5 separate regions of the Homo sapiens genome follow, and regions 2, 3, 4 and 5 are each linked to region 1. The links are contacts of gene promoters, found by promoter capture Hi-C in human tissues and cell types (Jung and others, 2019). All regions are on one chromosome and are shown on one strand. The core of a region is centred on a gene start or on the middle of the fragment in contact, and the rest is flanking DNA. Distances in the headings are between cores, read along the strand shown.

Region 1 (2,679 bases), core at 99-2,598:
CGATCAAGTCCCATTTTTGTAGTTTTCTCCCCTGCCTGAACACTTTGGACCGCCACCTCTGTCTATTCCTTAGTTCTCGGGTGAAAGTTATCCTTTCCAATAAACCTTCCGAGTTTTTCAAATCTTAATGAGAATCCTTTATTTTGTGCTCCAACAAGCCCCTTCATTTCCCCAACCTCAGCACTCATCAACGAAGGGGAACCCAACTGTCTTGTCTTTGTTACCCCAGCACCTGGCGTGTAACAGCAGCGCAACAAATGTTCTTCAATCAGTTGAAAGTAGATATTAAGTCATGTACACCATCTCCATTTCATAGGAGTCATAAAGCATGATAAGCTCTACTAATGATTAATCTTATAAATGAAGAAACCAGGGTACAGAGAGAAAAATTAAGTTGTCCTGGGTTCTAAAACAGGTAAACGACAACAGAATATAGAACCTGAGACTCCAGAGTCAGAAGCTATTTGTACTCTACCACGCTGCTTCCACTTAAATTCTAGGTCCTATTGACACAGCTGACCCTGTTGGCTCTACTGACACAACTCAGATTGGGCCGACTAAAATGTTCAGAGTATATCTGGGTGCGGTGGCTCATGCCTGTAATCCCAGCACTTTGGGAGGTCGAGGCGGGCGGATCACTTGAGATCAGGAGCTGGAGACTAGCCTGGCCAACATGGTGAAACACTGACTCTACTAAAAATTTTTAAAAATTAGCCGGGTGTGGTGGTGCGTGCCTGTAATCCCAGCTACTTGGGAGGCTCAGGCAGGTGAATCACCTGAACCCGGAAGGCGGAGGTTGCAGTGAGCCAAGATCGCGCCACCGCACGCCAGCCTGGGCGACAGAGACTCCGTCTCAATAATAACAACAATAATAATAAATAAATAAAAGAGTAAGGGGTTCAAAGTTAGGAAATACAGTTTGACCTGCCCCTTCTCTCTAGAAAGGAAACTGGCTCCTGGGACAGCCTTGCATTTCTAATTATTACAGATTGGGCGTCTTCCCAGGAAAAAAGCCCGACCGGCAGACTGTGGAGCCGGACACCCTATTCCAGAAACTAAACTACAAAGGTGGAGGCCAAAATTCGACGCCTACAGACTACAGACTGCAGCCCCTTTATCACATTTCTCTCTTAACTTTTCAGTCCTCCCCGCTTCCCGGTTCGCTCAGGCAGTGCACATCCCAGAGCTCCTTCCCCGCTTGGACCCGAACTGTTCTCACTGAATGATCTCCTCGCTGACATCCAGGCCGAAAGTCTTCCGCAACTGCTGGGTGCACCAGTGCACCAGCGGCTCCCCGGACACCGCCCCAGCCACCGCCATCTTCCCCAGCCGGAACCAGCTGAGCTGCAAAAGCCCCACGTCCTGCACCGGACTAGTTCCCTTCGCAACACCAACCTCTCTCACGCGGGTTCCGCCAGCTTGCACCGCCCCGCAAGGTCGCACCGCCTCCAGTGCAGATCCCGCCCATCTGTGCGCCTCCTGCTTCTTCCTGCTTTGTTGTCTACTTCCTTGTGCCCTCCGGAGTCGAGCTCTGTCAGTGCATGATTCTTGCCAATCGCTAAACGTAGGACTCGAGGAAGGCCATTGGCAATTCTGCTAAGAAGACAGTGCAAGTGCCTATAAAAACGACAGTTTAGGGGGAAAACAAACCAATACCCGGAAAGCTGAGAGGCCAGCTTTTTAATCGTCATGGTTTTATGTAAAATAAAACAGCACGTGGAAGGTATTGTAAGCGCTGTAAGTTTTTGCTCTGGTGGTGGTTTTAATTTTTTAATTAATTAATTAATTTATTTATTTATTTTGAGACGGAGTCTCGCACTGTCGCCCAGGCTTGAGTGCAGTGGCATGATCTCGGCTCACTGCAAGCTCCGCCTCCCGGGTTCATGCCATTCTCCTGCCTCAGCCTCCCAAGTAGCTGGGACTACAGGCACCCGCCACCACGCCCGGCTAATTTTTTTTGTATTTTTAGTAGCGACGCGGTTTCACGTGTTAACCGGGATGGAGTGTTTATTTTTAATACCCCCTGTAGTCGACTACTAGATTCACACCGCTAAAACTTCTATTTTATTTTTTGAGCCATGTATTTTCCAGGAGAGCCAAGACAACTCAGCAAGCTCGAGGGTAAAAAACAGTAAAACAGGAGTTGGAATTTGGCTTTGAGGACTTTCCACATGAGTTCTCAACCAAAAATGACAGTATTTAAGGGCTGTCTGCAATTCCCTACCCCGCTAAGACAATGGGCTGGGGAAAATTTAGCCAAACTTTTCTGGAGATCATAATGTCTTCCCATTCATTTCTGGCTTTTTGTTGCATTTGCAGGTTAAAAGTTCTTCATTTCTACTAGCCTGTTTAGACTAAGTGGTCACATTAAATTGGCAGCTGTTTTACCTTTTTGCTAGTGTTTTCATTGGCATAAATATTATAATTAAAATCATGAGTGTATTGGCCGGGCGCAGTGTCTCATGCCTGTAATCCCAGCGCTTTGGGAGGCCGAGGCGGGAGGATCACCCGAGCGCACACGGAGACACACACACAAACACACACACACACACACACACACACACTGGGCGTGGTGGCTCATGCCTGTAATGCCAGCACTTTGGGAATCAGAGGCAAGAGGATCACTTGAGCCCAGGAGTTCCGGACCAGTCTGGGCAGCATAAGGAGAATCCTCATCTC
Region 2 (2,679 bases), core at 77-2,576, 240 kb before region 1:
ACCCCATCTCTACTAAAAATACAAAAATGGACCAGGCGTGGTGGTATGTGCCTGTAGTCCCCACTACTCAGGAGGCTGAGAGAGAAGAATCGCTTGAACCTGGGAGGCAGAGGTTGCAGTGAGCCAAGATCGCACCACTGTACTCCAGCCTGGGTGACAGGGTGAGACTCCATCTCAAAAAAAAAAAAAAAAGTGTACGTAACAGGGGAACTTGGTAATAATAGGCTGCCTGTGACAACCTGACAGAGAGTCTTCCAGTGCAAACGATTTACAAAAAATAAAAAAAAATTATGTGTTAATTTTGCCCTGGCAGGAAGGGATCCTCAGATAAAAAGGTATTCATTGTCCTCAGGAGAGTGAAAGCATTAGCCTCACTCTCTCAAAGTTTTTGTTAGGTTCACATAAAAAAAGCATCTTGTTCTTGGAAAAGAGTCACCATCATAAAGGCAAGCAGAACAAACAGGCAGGAAATCGATTTATTCTATCTTCAATATACTGAGGTAAGAGGCCTTGAAGGTTGCTTGGTGGCACAGAGATATGGTCCGGATATGTCTGTCATTCCAACAGACTCTGTGACTGTTCAGACATTTGTCCATAAGCAGATGACATTTTAAAAATCAGATAGCCACTTTGTGATTTTCAGATTGTATATTGTATACACATATCCAGAGTCAACCTCTAGAGTTAAACTCTCTCTCTACCTTCTCTGCATCAGCTTCTACCACTCAGGCACACAATAAAACCTCATTAGCGACGTTATTCTGAAAGCTGAAGATGTATTACATTCCTAATGATGACACAGACAAGAATACAGAGTTCTTAACCTGTAACACATCAGCACCTATTGCACGGTAAACTTTAAATAAATACTGAATGACAACAAAATATTCAGGGGAACAGATTTTATTAGAATGACCAGAATGAAATGCCTGAATTTCTAGGGGCAGACTGACAAAATAGCTCTGTGATAATCAGAGATGATTAGCTGTGCTCCTCTGGGCCTCTAAACTCCTCAGAGTGAGGACAGTTTGAAAGTCTGTTTACTGATGCAGAGACATGATGGGACTGAGGCCCAGACTCTCTAACCACATATACTCTGACAAGGATTTGGATTCTTCAGAAAAAGAATATGCAAAAATCAAATTGCCACCAGATGTTACCAAAAGATCTGAAATACCCCATTAAGTCTCTTTACACTTCCTTCCATTTTTTCAGGTTCATAAATTTTCAAAACAGAATAGATTCCGTTCTCAGGGGCAAGTGGAACATGCAAGAAGTCTGGATGCCTTGGGCAACAGCAACCTACAGTGAGCCAACTGCTTAGTGGATGCCTGAAAACAAGACCATCTAAACATTTCCTATAAAATCTGTACCAAGTGACAGATACATGAAGCGGTGTGGGTGGCTGGGCAATGAGGCAATCAGTGGGAAGAGTGAACTGGCTGTACCTATAGGTGTTAAAAAAGGCAAGAGCTGCATATGCAATGAGCCAACATTAAGTGAATTTAAGAGTGACTATTCTCCATCCTCTTGACTCCCTCAGCTGCCCTTTTATTAATTTTTCTCTTCAGGCCTGACCTCAAATTTAATTTATAATCTAACTCTCCCATATAAAATATGGAGAGTACAGATACAGTTTGAATTACCTGGCCAATACCTATCACATGACTGCATATCATAAGTACCAGGATCAACACTGTTGAATACTATGAAGGGAAGAATCTCTAGAAGCTGGGAAATTTTGCTAAGTCTGCTAAAATCCTCTGTGTGGGTATCTCCCGCAGACTGTGGACACTTGAGACTCTAATAACCACTTGGTAATATTTACAACAATAAGTCCCTGGTGGCTCCCCTGCAGAAGCAGGTTGAGAAGGGAGGGGAAAGCCACATATCACACTTACCATCTTCTGTTTCCTGCCACACGATGCCTTCAAGGTTGACGCTAGTTCCAGGTTCACAGGGGCCCAAGCACTCAGGCTCTGTGGCCAGAGCCACATCACATGTGTTGACCCCAACTGATCGGGTACGAACCATGATCTGCTCACAGGGAGATGAGATGTCATTGTTGACCACTGGCACCAAAAGGTGTATTGGCAGCACTGCTGGTGTGGAAACAGGGGACTCCATCTGTGGAGGGAAGAAAAAGTAGTAGCTGAGTTGCAGGGAGAACATTTAGAGGAAATACCTTTTCTGTATTTAATCTAGTCCTATATCTATTCCTGCCAGAGTGCAGACGGCTATAAATAAGACTTTGGTTCTTCCTTTCAAGTTCTGGCTTATGATACCACTACAAATCTAGTGGTTTAGATGAGAACATCCTGTGCTAAGAGAAACTCTTATTAATGAGCGTATAATGATCTTCTTAATGATCTTCCTCATAAACTGCACTTGGCTAAAATGTTTTTTAAAAAGTTCTATTTTTTCCTCATCTCATTAAAAAGTCTCTAATGAAAGAGAATCAGGGCCAGATTTCAATAGTAACAGAGCACACAGACTGATGAGAAAGACAAGGCCCAGCATCTGAGGTATGTTTTGCTACCACCACTATGCTTCCTACCAATCTATCATTCAGCAAACAGTACATTAGTCTGGCATAAAATCCATGAATTTGGGTGGGGATAAAGAGAGGAAGAAATAGCCAAATCCTAGGAATGCCATGATTCCTAATGATCCTAGGTG
Region 3 (2,679 bases), core at 95-2,594, 190 kb before region 1:
ATATATACACATATATGTATATATTGTGTGTATATATACACATATGTATATATTTGTGTGTATATATACACATATATGTATATATTTGTGTGTATATATACATATATGTATATATTTGTGTATATATACATATATGTATATATTTATGTGTATATATACATATATATATTTATGTGTATACATACATATATATATTTATGTGTATACATACATATATATATTTATGTGTATATATACATATATGTATATATTTATATGTATATATACACATATATGTATATATACATATATATGTATATATTTATATGTGTATATATATGATTCTTAAAATGGGCCTTCAGTTCATTCTTTTTTTTTTTTTTTTTTTTTTGAGATGGAGTCTCGCTCTGTCTCCCAGGCTGGAGTGCAGTAGCATGATCTCAGCTCACTGCAACCTCCACCTCCCAGGCTGGTCTCGAACTCCTGACCTCGAGTGATCCATTCGCTTCAGTCTCCCAAAGTGCTGGGATTACAGGCTTGAGCCACCACGCCTGGCTCCATCCACTATTTTGAGGATTCCTTTAACCTTTCTTGTTTATTGAATTTCATCTTTCCTCTATCACATCTTCCTTTTCGTAGAAACATCCAGTAGCTTTCTAGAATAGGGCATGGAAGTTAGATTTTTTAAAGATATTGCAAGTTTATTTTAGCCCCCATTCTGGGATATAATTTATAGCAGTGACGTGTGTTGACTTTTTTTTTTTCTAGAACAAAATTCTGATAAAAAATTCTGAATTGACATCATAACTAAGAAGCACATGACTAGAGAAATCTGTATCAGAATTTATAATATATTTAAGCTAGCCTAAAGTCAGTATTAATGTTTAAAGAAAGCCTCATGAAACTGGCAGCAAGTAGACACTGAATAAAAGATTATTATTAATAACAACAACCACATTTATACCTGTAAGTTATAATATAAACTAAGTAGATAAATTTGACCTAAAAGAAGGCAAACCAGGGGTTTTGGTTTCTCAAGGTGCCTAATCCTGATTAGCCCCCATTTTTATTAATTTTTCAAGTATATCAAGTAATTATTATTATTATTATTTGAGACTGAGTCTCGCTCTGTCGCCCAGGCTGGAGTGCAGCGGCGCGATCTCGGCTCACTGCAAGCTCCGCCTCCCAGGTTCGTGCCATTCTCCTGCCTCAGCCTCCCAAGTAGCTGGGACTACAGGTGCCCGCCACCGCGCCTGACTAATTTTTTGTATTTTTAGAAGAGACGGGGTTTCACTGCGTTAGCCAGGATGGTCTTGATTTCCTGACCCCGTGATCCACCTGCCTCGGCCTCCCAAAGTGCTGGGATTACAGGCGTGAGCCACCTTGCCCGGCCAAGTATATCAAGTAATTATTTATATTTTCTCAGATAAAACCAGCTTGCTTGGTTAGAATGTAGATTAAGTTCCAAATTTTGGCAAAATTCAAGTGGCTATCTTTAAGTTTACCTTGCTTAAATTTCATAACCTTTTTGTAAATATACAAATACTACCTGGGATCCCATTAATTTATATAATTAATAGTACACAAAACCAAAACCATGAATAAGAAAAGAGAATTCGGTATTAAGAGAAAATAAATACGTTGACCTCCCTAAGAAAACAGAAGTTCCTCCATGGTTGTTATTCCCATCCTGTGTCCAAAAGATTATTATTGCCAGAAATTCTGTATGTGCAAAAAAATCCTACTGATTATAGATAACCTCTGGTTTTCCCCTCTTCTTCCTTTTTTTTTTTTGAAATGGAGTTCTTGTTGCCCAGGCTGGAGTGCAATGGTGCGATCTAGGCTCACTGCAACCTCCGCCTCCCAGGTTCAAGTGATTTTCCTGCCTCAGCCTCCTGAGTAGCTGGGAATACAGGCATGTGCCACCACACCCAGATAATTTTGTATTTTTAGTAGAGACGGGGTTTCTCCATGTTGGTTAGGCTGGTCTTGAACTCCAGATGTCAGGTAATCCACCCGCCTCAGCCATATCCAGATTCTTGTCTTCCACAGAAACCCCGGGATTTGGTTTTGACTCTTTCACACTTTGAGGCTGTTTCCTTCTTGTTCTTAGTTAAAAATGAAAAGCACTTTCCACATCACCAACAAAAGCAATTCAGCAGGATTCATTTCTATATACTGTGCTGCCACATACAAGCCCCATTAATGAACAGCATAAGGGACTAGGGCATGGCTTGGTAAAATGAATAGTGCTTCAGGAGGAGTCCAACTCTGCAAGCTGCTGCTTTTAGAAAAATGCATTTAACTACAGCCACAGGTCCCTCCCTCCTCTTGCTTCAAAATCAGATGTTCACCCATCCCTAGCAGTAAGATAAAGACCTTAGAAAGAGAGTTCTGACAGCAAACCACAGAGGCTGCAGACACATTTCGTTTTAATTCCATCAGCAACTGCTAAGCAATTAATGAAATAGAGAGGAGGGAGGGGGCATCAGGGCAAAGAGAAAAGGGACTTGAGCAATCATGTGGAAATACTTCATCCTCATCCCAATGAGAGCAGGTTATCTGGGGCAGCTGTACAAAGCTTCAAATCCTTGAATTTGAACTCCCAGGCCACTTCCCAAGCAGCAATAAAGATATGTAGTCCAGATTTTGTCTTGCTTACAGTTTTATATCTCTCATATACTTGCCTGTAGCCACCAA
Region 4 (2,679 bases), core at 117-2,616, 170 kb after region 1:
CAGTGGATTAGAGATGGCTCTGCAAAAGAAGAATGAAATATACAGGATTTTTTTTTTCATTTAAATGCAGCCCAGCTGATAAGCCGTTACTGTGTGGTAATCTCTGACCAAAGAGACAGACTTTCTTAGTGTGCTTGTGTTTGTGTCTTTTACCACCAGCACAGACCACTTTATGGGCACTCCTGCGAAAAACCAGGCTCAGAGTAGAACTTGCATGGGGAGCTTTCTGTACAGATAGTTCTAATAAATTACAGCTACATCTCCCAAAGAAACTTTTATGCTCAAAGGTATATTTTCTGTAAGAAAATAACTAAGAAACTTTAAACAGAGAAATCTTTTTAACTTGCCTTAAAATTCTTTCCTTCAAAAGGTATTGAGTCCAGTTGTTTTGATCTGAAATAACTTCTGAAAGAGACCTGTCACTGTATTCTGAATCCTTATATTAATCATAAAACAAAGCAAAACCCTTTATTTCTACTCTCTAGATATAGTGTTTTTCAGCTGAGGTTACACATCAGAATCACTTGTGGAGCAATGTTTGCTTCCACTCCTAGAAATTCTGACTCAGTAGGTAGGAGGTGAAGTCACTGCATCTCATTTTGGGTTTTTTTTTTTTTTTAAGTTTTAAAGATATTTCTGATAGATACACTTCCAGTTGAGTTTCACTACCAGCTTATATTTGAATTGGTGCCACACGTTATTTCATAAAATATGGAGGTGAGTTTCATTCATAGTTCTGTGGCTTTACAAAGAGGAACCCAGAAGGTAGCTAGAAGGAAATCCTGGCCATAAGAATTTGGATTTTGAAAGGAACCAGTCTAAACCCCCTCCTCTTTTTTTTTTTTTTTTTTTTTTGGTGGTGTTGTTGTTGTTATTTCTTTATTTCTTCTAAGGAGAAAAAAAACGGGATACATGTGCAGAATGTGCAGGTTTGTTACGTAGGTACATGTGTGCCATGGTGGTGTGCTACACCTATTGACCCGTCTTCTAAGTTCCCTCCCCCGACCCCCCATCCACCAACAGGCCCTGGTGTGTGTTGTTCCCCTCTCTGTGTCCATGTGTTCTCAATGTTCAACTCCCACTTATGAGTGAGAACATGTGGTGTTTGGTTTTCTGTTCCTGTGTTAGTTTGCTGAGGATGATGGCTTCCAGCTTCATTCATGTCCCTGCAAAGGACATGATCTTGTTCCTTTTTATGGCTGCATAGTATTCCATGGTGTGTATGTACCATATTTTCTTTATCCAGTCTATCATTGATGGGCATTTGGGTTGGTTCCATGTCTTTGCTATTGTAAATAGTGCTGCAGTAAACATACATGTGCATGTGTCTTTATAGTAGAATGATTTATATTCCTTTGGGTATATACTCAGTAATGGGATTGCTGGGTCAAGTGGTATTTCTGGTTCTATATCCTTAAGGAATCACCATACTGTCTTCCACAATGGTTGAACTAATTTACATTCCTACCAACAGTGTAAAAGTGTTCCTATTTCTCCATAGCCTCTCCAGCATCTGTTGTTTCCTGACTTTTTAATAATCACCATTCTGACTGGCGTGAGATGGTATCTCATTGTGTAAACCCCCTCCTCTTTACAGATGAATAAGCTAACCCAGAGAGGCTAAGGAATGTGCCAGAGTTGAAAGCAGAAGCAAATACTAGATCTAAGACTCTGACTTGAGCTTTTTCTACACTGGTATCTCGGACCTTGACCCTCTCCTAGAAATGCTTCAAAACCACTCAGTGGTCTAGAAGTTGCTTTGAGCATCCCAAAGCCTGCCAGTGTGTTGTGAGGTCTCAGGGTACTTAATAAAACCAATAATGCAGCGAGCAGGAACTCTTAATTCTTCCAAGTTCCTAGGTAGGAGTAATGGGTGACATTATAGTTAGAAATTGTAGATATTACTCAAAATCCTTTTGTGACTTCATTGTAAACATGGAAACTTCTGGCAAAAGATAATCTAGATTTGATACTAAGGATTATTAAGAACAAGATCAGTTGTCTCATTTAAACTGAACCTTAAGTATTGGCAACAAGTGTAGGAAATTATGCCAATATTATATTTCTAAGCAAGCCTGACTTTTAGCTTGTACTTTAGAAAGAGGATATTATGCCCAGATTTGCAATTTAACCAACGAATGGAGTAATATGTTTATTAATTAGGATTAGAGTTGGCTGCTTTTTAAAAATCCAAATACAAGTAGCTCAGTCAAGGTGGAGATTGATTTTTCTTTTTGATAAAAAAAATCCAGAGAGAAGAAAAGTCCAACATTAGCATGGTTACTCCACAGCCATCAGGGACTTAGGTTCTGTTTTTTGCTCCATCTATTCTTGGCACTACTTTACATCGTCAAGATGTCTGGTGATTCTAGATGGCTTCTGGACCTTTCATTCTAGCCATCTCTCTTGAAAGAATTTTTTTAGAATTATACACTCAGTGGCCAGGCACGGAGGCTCATGCCTGTAATCCCAGCACTTTGGGAGGCCAAGGCAGGCAGATCACTTGAGGCCAGGAGTTTGAGACCAGCCTGGCCAACATGGTGAAATCTCATCTCTACCAAAAACAAACAAAAAAAAAATTAGCCATAGTCTGTAGTCCCAGCTACTCAGGAGGCTGAGGCAAGAGTAAAACTAAAAACAAAATTAGCTGAGTCTGTAGTCCCAGCTACTCAGGAGGCT
Region 5 (2,679 bases), core at 110-2,609, 150 kb after region 1:
CATCCAGTCTGCATCTTGTAAGTGGGAGAATATAATCGGTTTATATTCAAGGCTATTTTTCACAGGTGAGGAATTACTCCTCTCATTTTGTTAATCTTTTTCTGGTTGCTTTATATATTCTTTATTCCTCTCTTACTGTTAATCATCGCAACTTGGTGGTTTTCTGTAGTGATACGGTTTGATTCTTTTTCTTTTTCTCTTTCTCCTTTGTGTATCTGCTTTATCAGTGAGTTTTATAGATTTACGTATTTTTATGATGGTAATTATCATCTTTTGACCTCCAGATGCAGGATTCTCTTGAGCATTTCTTGTAAGTCCAGTCTAGTAGTGACAGATTCCTTCAGTTTTTGCTTGTCTGGGAAAGACTTTATTGCTCTCTCATTTCTGAAGGATAGCTTTGCTATATGTAGTATTTTTGGCTGAGAGTTTTTTTTTTCTTTCCATTACTTTGCACATATCATTTCATTCTCTCCTGGCCTGTAAGGTTTCCACTGAGAAATCTGCTGTTACTCCCTTATAATTTTCTTGACTCTTTTTTCTTGCTGTTTTTAGAGTACTCTCTTTGTGTTTGACTTTTCACAATTTAGGACTGTAATATAAAGTGGACCTTTTTGGGTTAAATATATTTGGGAACCTTTGAGCTCCCTGGACCTGGATGTTCATATCTCTCCTTAGACATGAAAAATTTTCAGTTGTTATTTCATTAAATAGGTTTTCTATGCCTTTTTTCATCTCTTCTTCTAGAAATCATATAATATGCATGTTTGTTCACTTAATGGTGTCCCATAAGTCTTGTAAGCTTTCTTCACTCTTTTTCATTATTTTTGTTTTGTTTTGTTTAGTTTGTTGAGACGGAGTCTTACTCTGTCACCCAGGTTGGGGTGCAGTGGCACAATCTTAGCTCACTGCAGTCTCTGCCTCCGGGGTTCCAGCTATTCTCCTGCCTCAGCCTCCCGCGTAGCTGGGATTACAGGCATACACCACTATGCCTGGCTAATTTTTGTATGTTTAGTAGAGACAAGGTTTTACCATGTTAGCCAGGCTGGTCTTGAACTCCTGACCTCAAGTGATCCACCCGCCTCAGCCTCCCAGAGTGCTAGGATTACAGGCATGAAACATTGCTCCCGCCTTATTTTGTTTTGTTCTGTTAACTGAGTAGTTTCAAATGACCTCTCATCAAGCTCAGAGACTTTCTTCTGCTTACGTCTGCTGTTGAATTTCTGTTGTACTTTTTATTTAATTCATTGAATTCTTCATCTGTGGGAAATCTGTTTGGTTCTTTTCTATATCTATCTCTTAGTTGAATTTCTAGTTTATATCATGAATTATTTGTCTGGTTTTGTTGACTTACTTGTCTGTATTTTCTGGTATCTCATTAAGTTTCCTTAAGATTATTATTTTAGGTCAGGCATGGGTGACTTACACCTGTAATCCCATCACTTTTGGAGGCCAAGGCAAGTGGATCGATGGAGCTCAGGAGTTTGAGATCAGCCTAGGGAACATAGCAAGACCCCATCTCTATGAAAAAGACAAAAATAATTAGCCAGGTGTGGTGGTACGCACCTATAGTCCCAGCTACTTGTGGGGCTGAGGCAGGAGGATTGCTTGAGCCCAGGAAGTTGAGGTTGCAGTGAGCCATGTTTGTGCCACTGCACTCCAGCCTGAGTGACAGAGTGAGATCCTGTCTCAAAACAAAAACAAAAACAAAGAAAAAAAACATACAACAACAACAACAAAAGATCATTATTTGGAGTTCCTTTTCCAGCAGTTTTAAAATTTCTTTTCATTGGGGTCTATTACTAAAGAGTTATGCTTCTTTGGTGGTGTCATATTTTCTTGCTTTTTCATGTTTCTGTACCACTGTGTTGATGTTTGTGCATCTAATGGAACTGTTGACTCTCTTAAACTTTCTAGAGTGGCTTTGATAGACAAAGACTTTCACCTGCAGTTGGGTCTTAGTGTGCCGGTTGGGAAGAGTGTGATGAATCTGTGTGCAGGTAGGTTTAGTGATACAGCCTCTGTGCAACTTCTTTGGCTACATTAAACATCAGGAATAAATGTGGATGCCTTAGTGGCCTAGGGTATAGAGTTTTTTGGTAGTGATGGCAGAAGGTTGTTAATATCCTTGTTGGAAAAGACTTTTGGGTCCTCCTGTTCTCATTTTCCCCACAATGGGGAGACTCTTGGTATCTGACATAGCCTACAAGCAGCCGTGAGACTAGGATCCTAGGCTCAGGGTCTTGAGGTACCTTTAGCAGCCCAGATCCAGGGGGTTGGGTTCCAGCTGTGAATCTCTATCCCTGGGGGGGCATGGCACAGCCCTGGCCCAACTCCAGGGAAAAAATGGGTGCTCTGGAGGTTTGAATTCAGAATACACGCCATAGCTGTAATTCAGGAGCCCAAGTCAGTAGGGCTCAGTCTAATAGGCACTTTATGTGGTTGTTTCTTTTTTTCCCATTTTTGAGCACAGGAACTTCAGTAACTTACCTAAAGTCACACAGTAAGCAAACCTGCACTAGGAATGTGGGTTTTTTTTCATATATATATATATATATATATATATTTTTTTTTTTTTTTTTTTTTTTTTAAGGGACAGGGTCTTGCTCTGTCACCCAGGCTGGAGTGTAGTGGCGTGATCATAGCTTACTGCAGCCTCAAACTCCTGGGCTCAAGAGATCC

What was found. Contacts are between HindIII fragments. The study calls those that stand out against the background at their distance.
Region 2: a fragment that was not itself captured here is called in contact with the fragment with the promoter of TRIP4 in region 1 in 3 of the 25 tissues and cell types used here (dorsolateral prefrontal cortex, liver and small bowel).
Region 3: a fragment that was not itself captured here is called in contact with the fragment with the promoter of TRIP4 in region 1 in 1 of the 25 tissues and cell types used here (spleen).
Region 4: a fragment that was not itself captured here is called in contact with the fragment with the promoter of TRIP4 in region 1 in 1 of the 25 tissues and cell types used here (mesenchymal stem cells).
Region 5: a contact is called between a fragment that was not itself captured here and the fragment with the promoter of TRIP4 in region 1, in 1 of the 25 tissues and cell types used here (mesendoderm cells).

What each region holds. Positions count from the first base shown.
Region 1 is chr15:64,386,505-64,389,183 of GRCh38, reverse strand. TRIP4 (thyroid hormone receptor interactor 4) reads right to left here and starts at 1,348. Exons shown (of 13, transcript NM_016213.5): 1 at 1,220-1,348. The coding sequence starts at 1,320. It also overlaps a transcript of PCLAF not described here. RefSeq lists enhancers at 632-1,132, 1,062-1,551, 1,133-1,633. The HindIII fragment of the contact is 11,205 bases long and covers 1-2,679 here.
Region 2 is chr15:64,622,275-64,624,953 of GRCh38, reverse strand. It overlaps ZNF609 (zinc finger protein 609), which reads right to left. Exons shown (of 10, transcript NM_015042.2): 3 at 1,902-2,127. All of the region lies in intron 3 of LOC101930091 (a long non-coding RNA gene), which reads left to right. Among named protein-coding and RNA genes, the nearest start is that of OAZ2, 80 kb to the left of the region's middle. RefSeq lists an enhancer at 2,226-2,305. The HindIII fragment of the contact is 8,404 bases long and covers 1-2,679 here.
Region 3 is chr15:64,574,514-64,577,192 of GRCh38, reverse strand. The region is part of intron 2 of ZNF609 (zinc finger protein 609); the gene reads right to left. All of the region lies in intron 4 of LOC101930091 (a long non-coding RNA gene), which reads left to right. Among named protein-coding and RNA genes, the nearest start is that of ZNF609, 120 kb to the right of the region's middle. The HindIII fragment of the contact is 4,551 bases long and covers 1-2,679 here.
Region 4 is chr15:64,220,614-64,223,292 of GRCh38, reverse strand. The region is part of intron 4 of CSNK1G1 (casein kinase 1 gamma 1); the gene reads left to right. Among named protein-coding and RNA genes, the nearest start is that of PPIB, 59 kb to the right of the region's middle. The HindIII fragment of the contact is 8,374 bases long and covers 1-2,679 here.
Region 5 is chr15:64,238,403-64,241,081 of GRCh38, reverse strand. The region is part of intron 4 of CSNK1G1 (casein kinase 1 gamma 1); the gene reads left to right. Among named protein-coding and RNA genes, the nearest start is that of PPIB, 77 kb to the right of the region's middle. The HindIII fragment of the contact is 3,318 bases long and covers 1-2,679 here.